Regions from separate parts of the Homo sapiens genome. Here all the other regions are linked to region 1. Evidence: promoter capture Hi-C in 16 types of primary human blood cells and fetal thymus (Javierre and others, 2016). All regions are on one chromosome and are shown on one strand. Each heading gives the region's core, a stretch centred on a gene start or on the middle of the fragment in contact. The rest is flanking DNA. Distances are from core to core; before and after follow the strand shown. Region 1 holds the start of STC1 (stanniocalcin 1). Region 2 overlaps ADAM7 (ADAM metallopeptidase domain 7). Region 3 overlaps ADAMDEC1 (ADAM like decysin 1).

Region 1 (3,725 bases), core at 898-3,397:
CTGGAGAAGTGAGGCTCAAGTCTGGAAATGCACAGTGCCTTTAAGCCATTCCATAGAATCAAAGGTCATTGCTTAGCACTTGAAAGCATGGGAAGGAAGGAGACAGTGGCTAGTGGTCAGGTTTAAGAGGTAAAAGGGCCAGGGAATCCATCTAGCTTTGGAAAAATGCACTCCCGAGTAAAAAGCATGGGATTTTAGTCTAAATGGCAGAGAAGACTGTGCCAGGAGTCCACTTGGAGACCCTTCTGATTTCAGGCTTTTAACTTACCGTCATATTGGCAAAAAGAAATCTGATCCGTTCATGTTTCACCCCAACCCTCCACTAGGACAGTGCTTAGAGGTATGCATAATCTCTTTCATATTAAAAGCCTTTTAAAAAAGAAAGAAAGAAAGAAAGAAAGAAAGAAGAAACACAGGTGTGGAATAACCAGGCCAAGGCCTCCCTATGCAAGACTGGAAGAAAACCGCAAAAAACTTGCATGAGGCTTTCTACATTCTGGATAAGATCTCCCATAAAAGTAATTTTTCTCCCACAGAAGGGGGGTGTTCTGGCAGGCAGCTAGGCAAGGAATGATCTGCAGCCTTCATGCCATAGGATTCTCCTCTGAGATCAAAAGCATGGTTCAGTTAGTCTTCCCCACCCCCTCCCACCACCCGCAGCCTCTAGGATGTTACAAGTCATTTCCCTAATTATATATTTCCACGGGTTTAAATTATAACTTTGCTTTAAGCAGTTTTAATATGCATTAGGGCTGCTATTGTTTTAGGCAAGCTCGAATTGTGAATCACTGCATCTCTATAGCAACTAAGTACAAAAGGAAGTGAAGCAAAAGCCCTCCTCTCGGCAGGGACCTGTGCTCTTCCAAGGGGATCATCATCTGCAGCATTTTGACACCTGTGATCCGGTCTTTGCTGACAGTTGGAGGACAGAGGGCAGTATTGGAAGGGGAACAAGTGGAGCCAGAGAAGTCAAGAGGCAGAGGTGTCAATGCAGGCTTCCTAATGATTCTTTTCCTTCAGAAGCCAAGATAATGCACAATTAACTGCTCCAAGAGTCAAGACGAAAGTGAGACCTTACCCTTGGAGAAACAGCTGCTACGTTTCACAATTTTTTTTTTCTAGGGGCTCTCTGGCTACGGGCTGCAGGGACGACTGAATGGAGCCCTACAGAGCCAGGAGGGAGACAGGCAGCAGGGTTGGGGGTGGGATGTATAGGGTTTTCTCTGAATCCGCCCTGGATTTGTCAGACTTGAGGGCTATGGTTCTGAAAATCAGTCTGAAGAGGGAGCTTTTCTGTGTATTCTCTTAGGTAGAGAAGTCAAGAAGTGAAGAGGTAGAGTCTTAAGAGGAAAGGAAGAGGGACAGCATCAAACAAGCCAGGTCTTACCTTAGATCAGCTTCTGGAAAGTATAGAGAGCGCTTTGAAGCATGCCAACATTCAAGCCTTTCCTCCCCTCTCACCCCTCCCCCTCCAAGAGGGTACGTGCCAGATTTCAGGCAATCAGGCTAGGCTTATGCAATGAAATACCCTCAGCAGAGCGTCCAGCTTCTTCGTTTAGTTGCATGCAATTTATTAAACAAAGGAGCTCCACTGCCTAAGGCTATTGGATTACACTGGCAGTTTATTGCCATCAGGCATGAAGCACATTTATTATCAAGATCAGCCGTCACAGACACAGTTGCAAAAGGGAGAGGCAAATGAGGACAGCTCTTTGGGGGAGAAACCGCTCTTGGGTTTGCTGCTTACCTGAGTTTTGAGCCGCCACTCGGGATTTCCTGGGGCTCACAGAGTCATTCTGCTCCGCCTCATGGGTTGCAGAAGCACTGATCACCAGCACCAGAAGCACTGCTGAGTTTTGGAGCATTCTCTGAGAAGTTTCCGCTAAGTTGTTGGGTTTTTTTTTTTTCCTGCCCCCCTTTCCTCTTTCCCTCTCCTGGCTTGAGTGAAGATGTGGATCTGGATACACTGAAAGCTTAGGTGAGGATTTGATGAGGATTTTTTTTTGTTGTTGTTGCTGGTGATGCTGCTGCTGCCACCGGTGCCTCCGCTGCTGCTGCTGCTGCCGCCGCTGCTGCTGCTGCTGCCACCGCCGCTGCTGCTGCTGCTGCTGCAGTCGCTGCTTCTTGCACCTCTGGCTTTTGCAAACTGGGGGCCCAAGAGCTGCACCCAGGGATTTTATAGCCGTTCTTATCGGTCCTCAGGATCAAGGACCAATCAGGTCCCTCAACTGGTCTGGTGAGCCAATAAGAGGGCATGCAATTCAGCTGGAGCTTTTTGACTTCTTAGAAATATTTTCCAGCAAATTAAAAGTACCTGCTGCCAATGTTTTATATGTGTGTGTGACTGTGTGTGCAGAGATGTGTGAAAAAGCTATTTTCGTGGAAGTAAGAGATAACTCTGTATTGATTGAACTAAAGAAAAATCCTATAGAAATCTCTCCAAGTTGCTTTTTGAAATCTAGCCATCTTTTTTTCTAATGAGCCACTTGGGGGAAATGGATAGCAGGGGTATGGTGGGGAAATGTGATCTCTTTAGATGAGAACTTAACCTGCTTACAGCAGTTTTACTCTAATTTTAACAGCACATTCTCGGTTCTGTTTTGTAGGCTACAAATGCAATAACTCCCTATCTTCTCTGTGTGTACATGTTCACATGTCTATGATGCATTTTTGTTTGTATGTGGACATCCTGGGTTCTCACTCACACATTTGAGCCCTTGAGGGGGAATTTATGTGAGTGGAAAAGCCTTGGGGGACTGAGATATGACAGCTCAGAGCTGAAGCCTTAGTCCCCCTACTGATCAACCTATGACTCTGGCTAAGTCTTTTTACCTTGCCCCACCTCGTTTTCCCATCTGTAAAACGCCAAAGTTGGACTCTGACATTCTGTATACCTCTAAAATAATGTGATTCTTCAATAATCAAATCAACTTTGACTTCATCTTTTCAGTCACCAGCAAAATTGCATAGTCCAGGAGTGTTAGTTACCCCAGGTACACATGTGCACACCTGCACATACCACACTCAACAGGGAGACATCATGAATGCCTGAAAATTAATAATCTGTGTTCAAGCCCAGCAACTTTATAACCACTTTGAAACAATAAGCTGGCCAAAGCAAGACTAAACCTGCTGAATGGAAACCAGTTCATTTCTTGGGGAGAGGGGTAGGAAAAAAGGGGGCAGAATGGAAAGAAGGGGTAGAGAAAGACCAGAATGTGTAGGAGAGAAGAATGATAAGCTCTAGACTTAATAGGAAAATTGCACTGCAATCACAAATCATGCCTGGTATAGAAACTTATATTTTCTTATAAGTGAGTTGTAGGCAATGCTGAGGTTTGTCCCCAACATGTGAAGGAGGTTAATGAGCCAGAAGAGGACTTCTTAGGGTAGGAAGGTGGTGAAGGTATTATACAATAAAACCTTTAATAATTTTGGGGAAGTAGATGAGAAATGGCCACTGGTGATTCATACAGATTTGGGCAGGATAATCTTGCAGAGAAATGGGGCCAGTGGCTTTACTTTGCATCCTAAAACCTTCAAACAAAAGTTGAAGAAAGAGTGCCACCCCTGTTAACCACAAACTAAACCAAGTGTCAGCTCTGTGTATGTTGTGGGGTGATAGGGTGGTGGGGGGCGGGGGGGGGGGGGCGGCGGACGGTTCTGGGTGATGATAGCCTATCCCTCACAAAATAGGGTTGTTTGGTAAGTATGAAAGTTTGCTA
Region 2 (3,725 bases), core at 375-2,874, 590 kb after region 1:
ATGTTAAAAATCTCATTATGGCTGGGTGCAGTGGCTCATGCCTGTAACCCCAGCACTTTGGGAGGCCGAGGAGGGCAGATCACGTGAGGCCAGGAGTTCAAGACCAGCCTGGCCAACATGGTGAAACCCCATCTCTACTAAAAATACAAAAATTAGCCAGGCATGGTGGTGTGCACCTGTAATCCCAGCTACTCCGGAGGCTGAGGTGAATCGCTTGAACCCAGGAGGCAGAGGTTGCAGTGAGCCAAGATCATGCCACTGTGCTCCAGCCTGGGCAACAGAGCAAGACTCTCTCAAAAAATAAAAATAAAATAAAATAAAATAAAATAAAATAAAATAAAAATATCATTATGAATATACCAGATAAGCTTGGATAAGGGCAAGGAATATAAACAATGAACCTAAAGCTTCTTGTATACCAGAATATGCTCAAACAGACAAAACAAAATTCAAACCACATTGAAGGGGTCTTGTCAAAAGAATTCAGAAGCCAACAGAAAGAGCTCCCGATGGCCAAAGCTGGGATAATGTGAAGAACAAAATAAATAACAGCTTTGTATTATGACATGAAGTGTAAATAAATATCATGAGCCCATACTGATATAAATAAATGACTGAATAAATAATATATAATAAATAAATAAATAAATTAAATAAATAAATTGAAAAAATGGACACTTCTTCTGGGAGAGGAATCAAATAATTTATGTAGATGCTGTCCTCTCCAGGGGGTGGAACCTAAATCCCCACCCATTAAGTGTGGGTTGTAGATTGTGACTTCCTTCCAGGAAGTACCATACTGAAGGGGGGAAAGAGTCATTTTACAGAGAGAAAGATGAAAACACCACCTCAGCCACGTGATCAGGTTTAACACTTGCTAAGTCCTGTGGCTAGTAGGGTGTAATAAAATGGCATTTTCTATTATGGCTCTCACCTCAAAATCTGTAACATCAGTCTAAGCATGAGAAAAATATCAGAACAAAAACAAATTGTAAGACGCCCTACAAAATGCTTGACAGATACTCCCCATAAAGGTCCAGATCGTAAAAAAAAAAACACAAAAAAACGAAAAAACCTGAGAAACTGTGAGACTTCAGGAGGCTAAGGAGACCTGACAACTAAACGTAGTGTGGAATCTGGGATCAGATCCTGAAAGAGTTAAAGCACATCAGGGAAAAACTAAGAAGACCTGAATAACTATAATTAATAGTAGTTTATGAATCTGGGCTTATTCGTTGTGACAAATAGACTATAGTAATGTCAGATGCTAATAAACAGGGAAACCTGAGTGCAGAGTATATGGAAACTCTGTACTATCTTTCCAACTTTTCTGTAAATCTAAAATGATTCCAAAATAAAAATTAAAAACCAAATTGTTATTAAAAACAGTATTAATGACACAATTTAAAATATCCTATTAACAATATTGACAATATTAAAAATCTTCTAATATTTGTTAATATAAAATCCATATCTGAATTTCCAAAAAAGTTCCATTGCCACCATTACACCCATACATGCATGTACACATACATGCAGACACACACACATACACACCTCTACACATACAACTCATCATGTTGCAAAATGTGACCAAACCCTTTCTATCTGATTAAGTACCCACCCTAGTTTCTTGGCCTCCCACGTGGGGATTCTGTGTCTTTATGATAAAGCTGTAATTTTATTGTTCAACTTGCAGTCAAAACAACCTTAACTAATGCACACTTAACATTGAATAAACACAAAACTCTCCTTCCCAACCTCATAGCTGACCCTCTTCAGATCCTCCTTGCTATAGTAGCACAGCTCTACAAGTTAAACAAATCAGAAATCTGGGCTTAGTCTTGACTACTCTCTCTTACTCCATCTGACTATCACTGAGGCTTGTAGATTCTAGCATGTAAATGTCTTTTAAAGTTATCTACTGCTTACTCCTCTGCTCAAATCATCTGCATTCATCAACAGCCTTAAATGGTTTTCCTGGCTATAGTACTGAGTTTTGCTAATCCATTATCTACAAGAAGTAAAGTACTAAAACACCATGCTTGCTATGGCATGTTTCTGCCTAGATATTTTGCTTCTCTTTGTTCATAGGATAAGGCCCAAATCTTTGACTTACTAGGTTGAACATGATTTACTCCTTCCCACTTTGTCATTTCATTTCTATTCAACTTACACCTGATTTTCCAGTAATATTGAACCTCTGTCTGTTCTTCAAATGTGTCATGTTCCTTCCTGGCTCAGAGCCTTGGCATGTGCTGTTCCCTGCCCCTGACTTCTCCTTGTAATATCCCTGGCACAGTCCTTGCATTTCTCCTATTATGATGCTCATTACACTCCACTATGTGTGCTTGGTTATCCAGTGTTTTTCTCTGCCAAGCAGGGACTTCCATGAGGGCAGAGACCTCCACCGTCTACACCATTGTATTTTCCATATTATCTCTGTGCCTGAAATAGTAGTCATTGAATAAATGAATGAACAGTCATCTCAAAGTAATGTGCAACATGTATGACCAACAACTGTGAATCTTAAATTATAGAGAATTTTTAAGAAGCATGAAGAAATAAAATACCACAAAAGAAACTGGTGAAAGGGCATGAATCAGAATCCATATGAAAACTACAAATAACTAAATAAATAAAGGAAAAATATTGATGTGAATGATCATCCAGGAAAACAATTTATCACAATAAGTCATCATTTCATTGTTTAAAATATTTGTATTAATCATAATATCTATTATTGGTAAGAAGGCAAGGAAACAGAAACTGCTATAAATTGATGGTGAGGTTCTAAACATGACCACTTCCTTTCTTCATGATAGTTTGGCAATAGTTATAAAAGCTTTACATTTTTTTTCATGTCATTGAAAATGCAGCTCTGTCCAACGACAGGGAATACCCCAAACCAAATTTCTCATAGTAAATATAGATTAAATAAATGAAGTTTCACTCACATTGTGCTTAGCTGCCTAAAGACACATACTATAAAAAATTTATTAAAATAGGAAATAGTCATGATTTATCATTGAGTGCAAAGTAGACGAAAAAACAGTATGTATAAAAATCGCTTTAAAAATGCGTGAACAGGATATCTGTGTATAGAGCTGCTACATGGACATATGGTAAATGGTGTATCCTTGGATGAGGAGAGAATCTGCATTTTCCATTTAATTGTATAACTAGAAACTATATATAATATGCTATATTATATTATATTAAACTATATTATAACATGCTATGTTATAATATAAATAGTTGTAATATAACTAATAATATAAACTATAATATAAAAGAATAACTATATTTATATTTTATTCTAATATAACTAGAAGAAATCTAGTTCTAAAATATAACTAGAATGAGGTTTGTAAAATCTTCCTTCTAATATTAGCTCTCTTTCAATTCATCTTTATCAGTATTTTGCATTTTGGCTGAAAGGACTGCTGGGTGGATTGGAGATAGGGAACATTCACCCAAAGCACTACTTGCTCCAGAACACACTAAATGAGCCCATGTTGAAGTCACGTGATGCCTCTTCTTTTTTAGAAAACGTATGAAGAAGAATTGTTGTATGAAATAAAACTAAATAGAAAAACCTTAGTCCTTCATCTTCTAAGATCCAGGTAAGTTCTATTGTGATTCCAGTACCTTATAGATTTTAGTAATTATGGTAAGCCAATTTTCGTAAAAACTGCCAGTGAAGAGGATTCCTCAATTTTTAT
Region 3 (3,725 bases), core at 832-3,331, 540 kb after region 1:
GAAGTCCCTATCTCACATATTAAAGCTAGTTTAATCTATAAGTGTTATTATCACATAATTGTACTTTTTGGAAGTCCATGTTAGTGCATAATTTGTTTTGTCTTACATATTTTAAAAACACAAAAGAATTGCTTTTATCCTATATGCATTTGTAATTGTTCTTCTAATACATACTACATATATAATTATTTTAGTTATGCTCAGAAATATAAATTGCTTGATGTAATTAAATGTTTTCAGGAAAGGTATGAACCTGAAGTTCAATATCAGATGATCTTAAATGGAGAAGAAATCATTCTCTCCCTACAAAAAACCAAGTAAGTTGTACCTCCTAAAAGTCTAATCACTGGATTAGGTTATGAAATTGGGGAGCAATCTTTTTGAGGCTCCATTTAGTGTGGTTTGACATAGAAGACATGAGGCATTTTGAGCTTTAGATGATACTAGTTTGTGCTAAAAAGGCTGATTTCCTAGGAAATTATATACAAAATGTAAAACAAAAGGAATGGCATATATAAATGACTTTCTTCCTTGACCTGGGAACTTAGTGAACTTCTTTTTCTACTCAGATAAACTCAAGACTTTGATGCAGCTTTCCATTCTTTTATGAGAATATGTGTCCAAGGCTGATTCAAAATGCATGGCCTAGAGATAGATTCCAGGGGATGGGGTTCCTCCTAGTTCTATAGCAGTTAATAAACTTCTCCCTGAATGCAATGGGCCTATAAGCATATTTGTGACCCAGCACCCTTCAAAGGTTCTGTGGAGGTTGTGTCCTTGGTGCAAGAAATCTCAAAATTACTAATTTGAAGATAGGGATCTGCAGATGGGAAGAAGATGAGGGGACTTCCTCCCTCGGATTTAATAGGAAGAACCAACTCTCTGATTTGCTTCAGCAACAGAGCTCCAATGTTGGAAGAGGATTAGTAGGTCAGAACCTTAGCTATTTATCATTGTAGACACTATCACTATTTTAGTGCTGAAGTTCAGGAAGTTCTGCCTTTCTTACCATCCTGAGTGGTCCATGCAGCTCTCTGCTCTCTACAGGCACCTCCTGGGGCCAGACTACACTGAAACATTGTACTCACCCAGAGGAGAGGAAATTACCACGAAACCTGAGAACATGGTAGGGTCCGAATACTTTGTGGGTCTCTTTTGAGTTTTAGATGTTATTAGTTTGTGCTAATGTTAACTAAGATCTCCAAAGGGCTCAATTATTTTATAAAATTCATAGGTCCATGAACAGCTTCAAAAAATAATCAAAGGACTTGAAAGCAAGTTGCTTATCTATGATCAATGAGACAACAGTTTGGAAAATCACATTCAGCTTTTAAAACATAGGAGCAGCAGAAAGCTTCCAAGTGTCACATTTTTGGAAGCAACCAAAAGTCCACTTCTCCCTAGACCATTTTATCCATAGGTTAGAAAAGTTCTTCTCTATACGTACTTAAAACCTCTTGTCACTATTTACTATTTTTTGGAGATACATGCATTTATCCTGAGGTCAGCAATGAAATATCAATAATTAATATTTTTATATCTGATTAAATCATCATCCCGTAGACAATACCAGGGCCAAATGTCAGACATTAAGAATCATGGCATAGAATATCATGAAGAGAATACAATAAATCTCAATCAAGAGATGTTCATGTTCCCAGGCTAAGACAGCTTCTCAGAGCCATCCTACAAGGTACCCTAAACCTGCATTTCTCTATATAAAAAAAAAGACTTCTGCCACAGAATGGTTCTTTGTTCCCCATGCTCATTAAAACTTATTTCATGAACATCTGAATTTTTGCTAACACTATCTTCAGCGGACAGTGTCTGATAAATTAATTTATGCTCAATTGTTAATAGCTGATGATACATTAATGAGGAATCTTCTCAAGTCTTCTATGAGAAAATGTTTATGTTGACGATATCTCTTCCAAAAAGGGAGAAAAGACCATAGATGGAATTTCATAACCTGAGGCAGGTCAATTTATTTTGCACTGGAGTTTTTTCACTACCTTTTTTAGATCACTCCACGTAAGTGGCCCCTTAACTTTGCTGATGTGGGCCAACAATCATGTCTGAATCTCTAATTGTAGACAAATAATTTTGTGTCTTTGAGGCTGATAAAGGGATTCCACTAACAGACCAATTAAAACAGTGATTAAATCAGTTAGTCTGAGGAGCTCAGGAGTGATAGTGTGAAATATCTGGGATTCCCCAGTCTAGAAAAATAGATGTCTCATTTTACTTATTTGTAATGCACAGTGCCTTTGGCACTCAGCACAGTGAAGCCAAATTCTTGAGCACTGACCCCCAAACCTGAGGACCCACTGGGAGTACTGTACATCCCAAGAGGACTGGCTACTTCTCAGAGAAAGCATCCACTTTCACTATGAGCCCACCTAGGTTTAACTTCCCTGGACTCCTCCTTAGTGTAAATTAATGTCAGAAAAACAGTTCAGCCACCAAATATAGAGAGTTTCCAGTGAAGCAATTCTGAAAACCTCTGAGGTTCTTGCTGTTTGTGTTTCTGAGGATTGGTCTGGCCACAGTCACTACTTGAAGAATTTTTACATATTCAAGATGGTAGCTTTCCTCACAACTGTGATACATGTATTCTCATAGTTTATACATTACACACACACTCACATACACACACACACACACATTTCTGAAGCATAATTTCTTTTTTCCACTCCAGGAACACTGTTACTATAAAGGAAACATCCTAAATGAAAAGAATTCTGTTGCCAGCATCAGTACTTGTGACGGGTTGAGGTAAGAACTACCATCAAAATTACTCAAGATCAAGAAGCTTTTTGTTACACAGAATTAAGGGCTACTAGATATTGTCTTCTTACTATTTTGGTAAATTTTTCATTGCTGAAATGCTGAATATATGTGGTTAAAGTGAAGAACAAAGTATTACCCTGACAATCATTTCATAATCTGCTGCTCTAGGAGAAGTCAGGCCTAGCAATGTAAAACAAGAATGCTACACTCTGGACCTTGATGATATCTGGATCCACTTCTGTGTTTATCCAACCTACTCTCTGAAACAGTTACTTCCTGTTTTCTAAAACATTCTTCCCTGCAATGGTCACAGTTGAACTTAATTTTAGAATTATATGTGTTTCTGTTTACGTAGATAATTATTGCCAATGAGAGAAAGTTTGGAAAGTAAGAAAAAGCACAAATAAGAAAATAACAGGCCGGGTGCGGTGGCTCACGCCTGTAATCCCAGCACTTTGGGAGGGCGAGGCGGGCAGATCAGGAGGTCAGAAGATTGAGACCATCCTGGCTAACACGGTGAAACCCCATCTCTACTAAAAATACAAAAAAAAATAGCCGAGTGTGGTGGCTGGCGCCTGTAGTCCCAGCTACTCCGGAGGCTGAGGCAGGAGAATGGCATGAACCCAGGAGGCGGAGCTTGCAATGAGCCAAGATAGCTCCACTGCACTCTAGCTTGGGCGACAGAGCGAGACTCCGTCTCAAAACAAAAAAAAAGAAAAAGAAGGTAACAACTACCACAAAAGTTGACCTCTGAGTAATCACTGTTATTAACATTTTGTCATGTTTGCACCCTTATGTGCACATATAGACAAATGTATCTTTCACAGCATTGAAATAAAAAAAAAACCACATTGTTCTTCCAACATGGCTGATAACACACACGACAAGTTCTTCACATATCATAAAATACCTTCAGGGATATAATTTTGAACAGT

Evidence for each region. The method cuts DNA at HindIII sites, captures the fragments that hold promoters and counts their contacts. A CHiCAGO score of 5 or more calls a contact.
Region 2: a contact is called between a fragment that was not itself captured here and the fragment with the promoter of STC1 in region 1, in 4 of 17 cell types (total B cells, naive B cells, M2 macrophages and 1 more). The highest score is 8.7, in total B cells.
Region 3: a fragment that was not itself captured here is called in contact with the fragment with the promoter of STC1 in region 1 in 3 of 17 cell types (naive B cells, total B cells and endothelial precursors); the score reaches 9.0 in naive B cells.

What each region holds. Positions count from the first base shown.
Region 1 is chr8:23,852,659-23,856,383 of GRCh38, forward strand. STC1 (stanniocalcin 1) reads right to left here and starts at 2,148. Exons shown (of 4, transcript NM_003155.3): 1 at 1,748-2,148. The coding sequence starts at 1,865. The HindIII fragment of the contact is 2,191 bases long and covers 1,972-3,725 here.
Region 2 is chr8:24,443,637-24,447,361 of GRCh38, forward strand. It overlaps ADAM7 (ADAM metallopeptidase domain 7), which reads left to right. Exons shown (of 22, transcript NM_003817.4): 3 at 3,550-3,626. The region is part of intron 1 of ADAM7-AS1 (ADAM7, ADAMDEC1 and ADAM28 antisense RNA 1); the gene reads right to left. Among named protein-coding and RNA genes, the nearest start is that of ADAM7, 4.5 kb to the left of the region's middle. The HindIII fragment of the contact is 2,438 bases long and covers 406-2,843 here.
Region 3 is chr8:24,393,022-24,396,746 of GRCh38, forward strand. It overlaps ADAMDEC1 (ADAM like decysin 1), which reads left to right. Exons shown (of 14, transcript NM_014479.3): 3 at 241-317; 4 at 1,048-1,126; 5 at 2,699-2,775. The region is part of intron 1 of ADAM7-AS1 (ADAM7, ADAMDEC1 and ADAM28 antisense RNA 1); the gene reads right to left. Among named protein-coding and RNA genes, the nearest start is that of ADAMDEC1, 11 kb to the left of the region's middle. The HindIII fragment of the contact is 1,458 bases long and covers 1,353-2,810 here.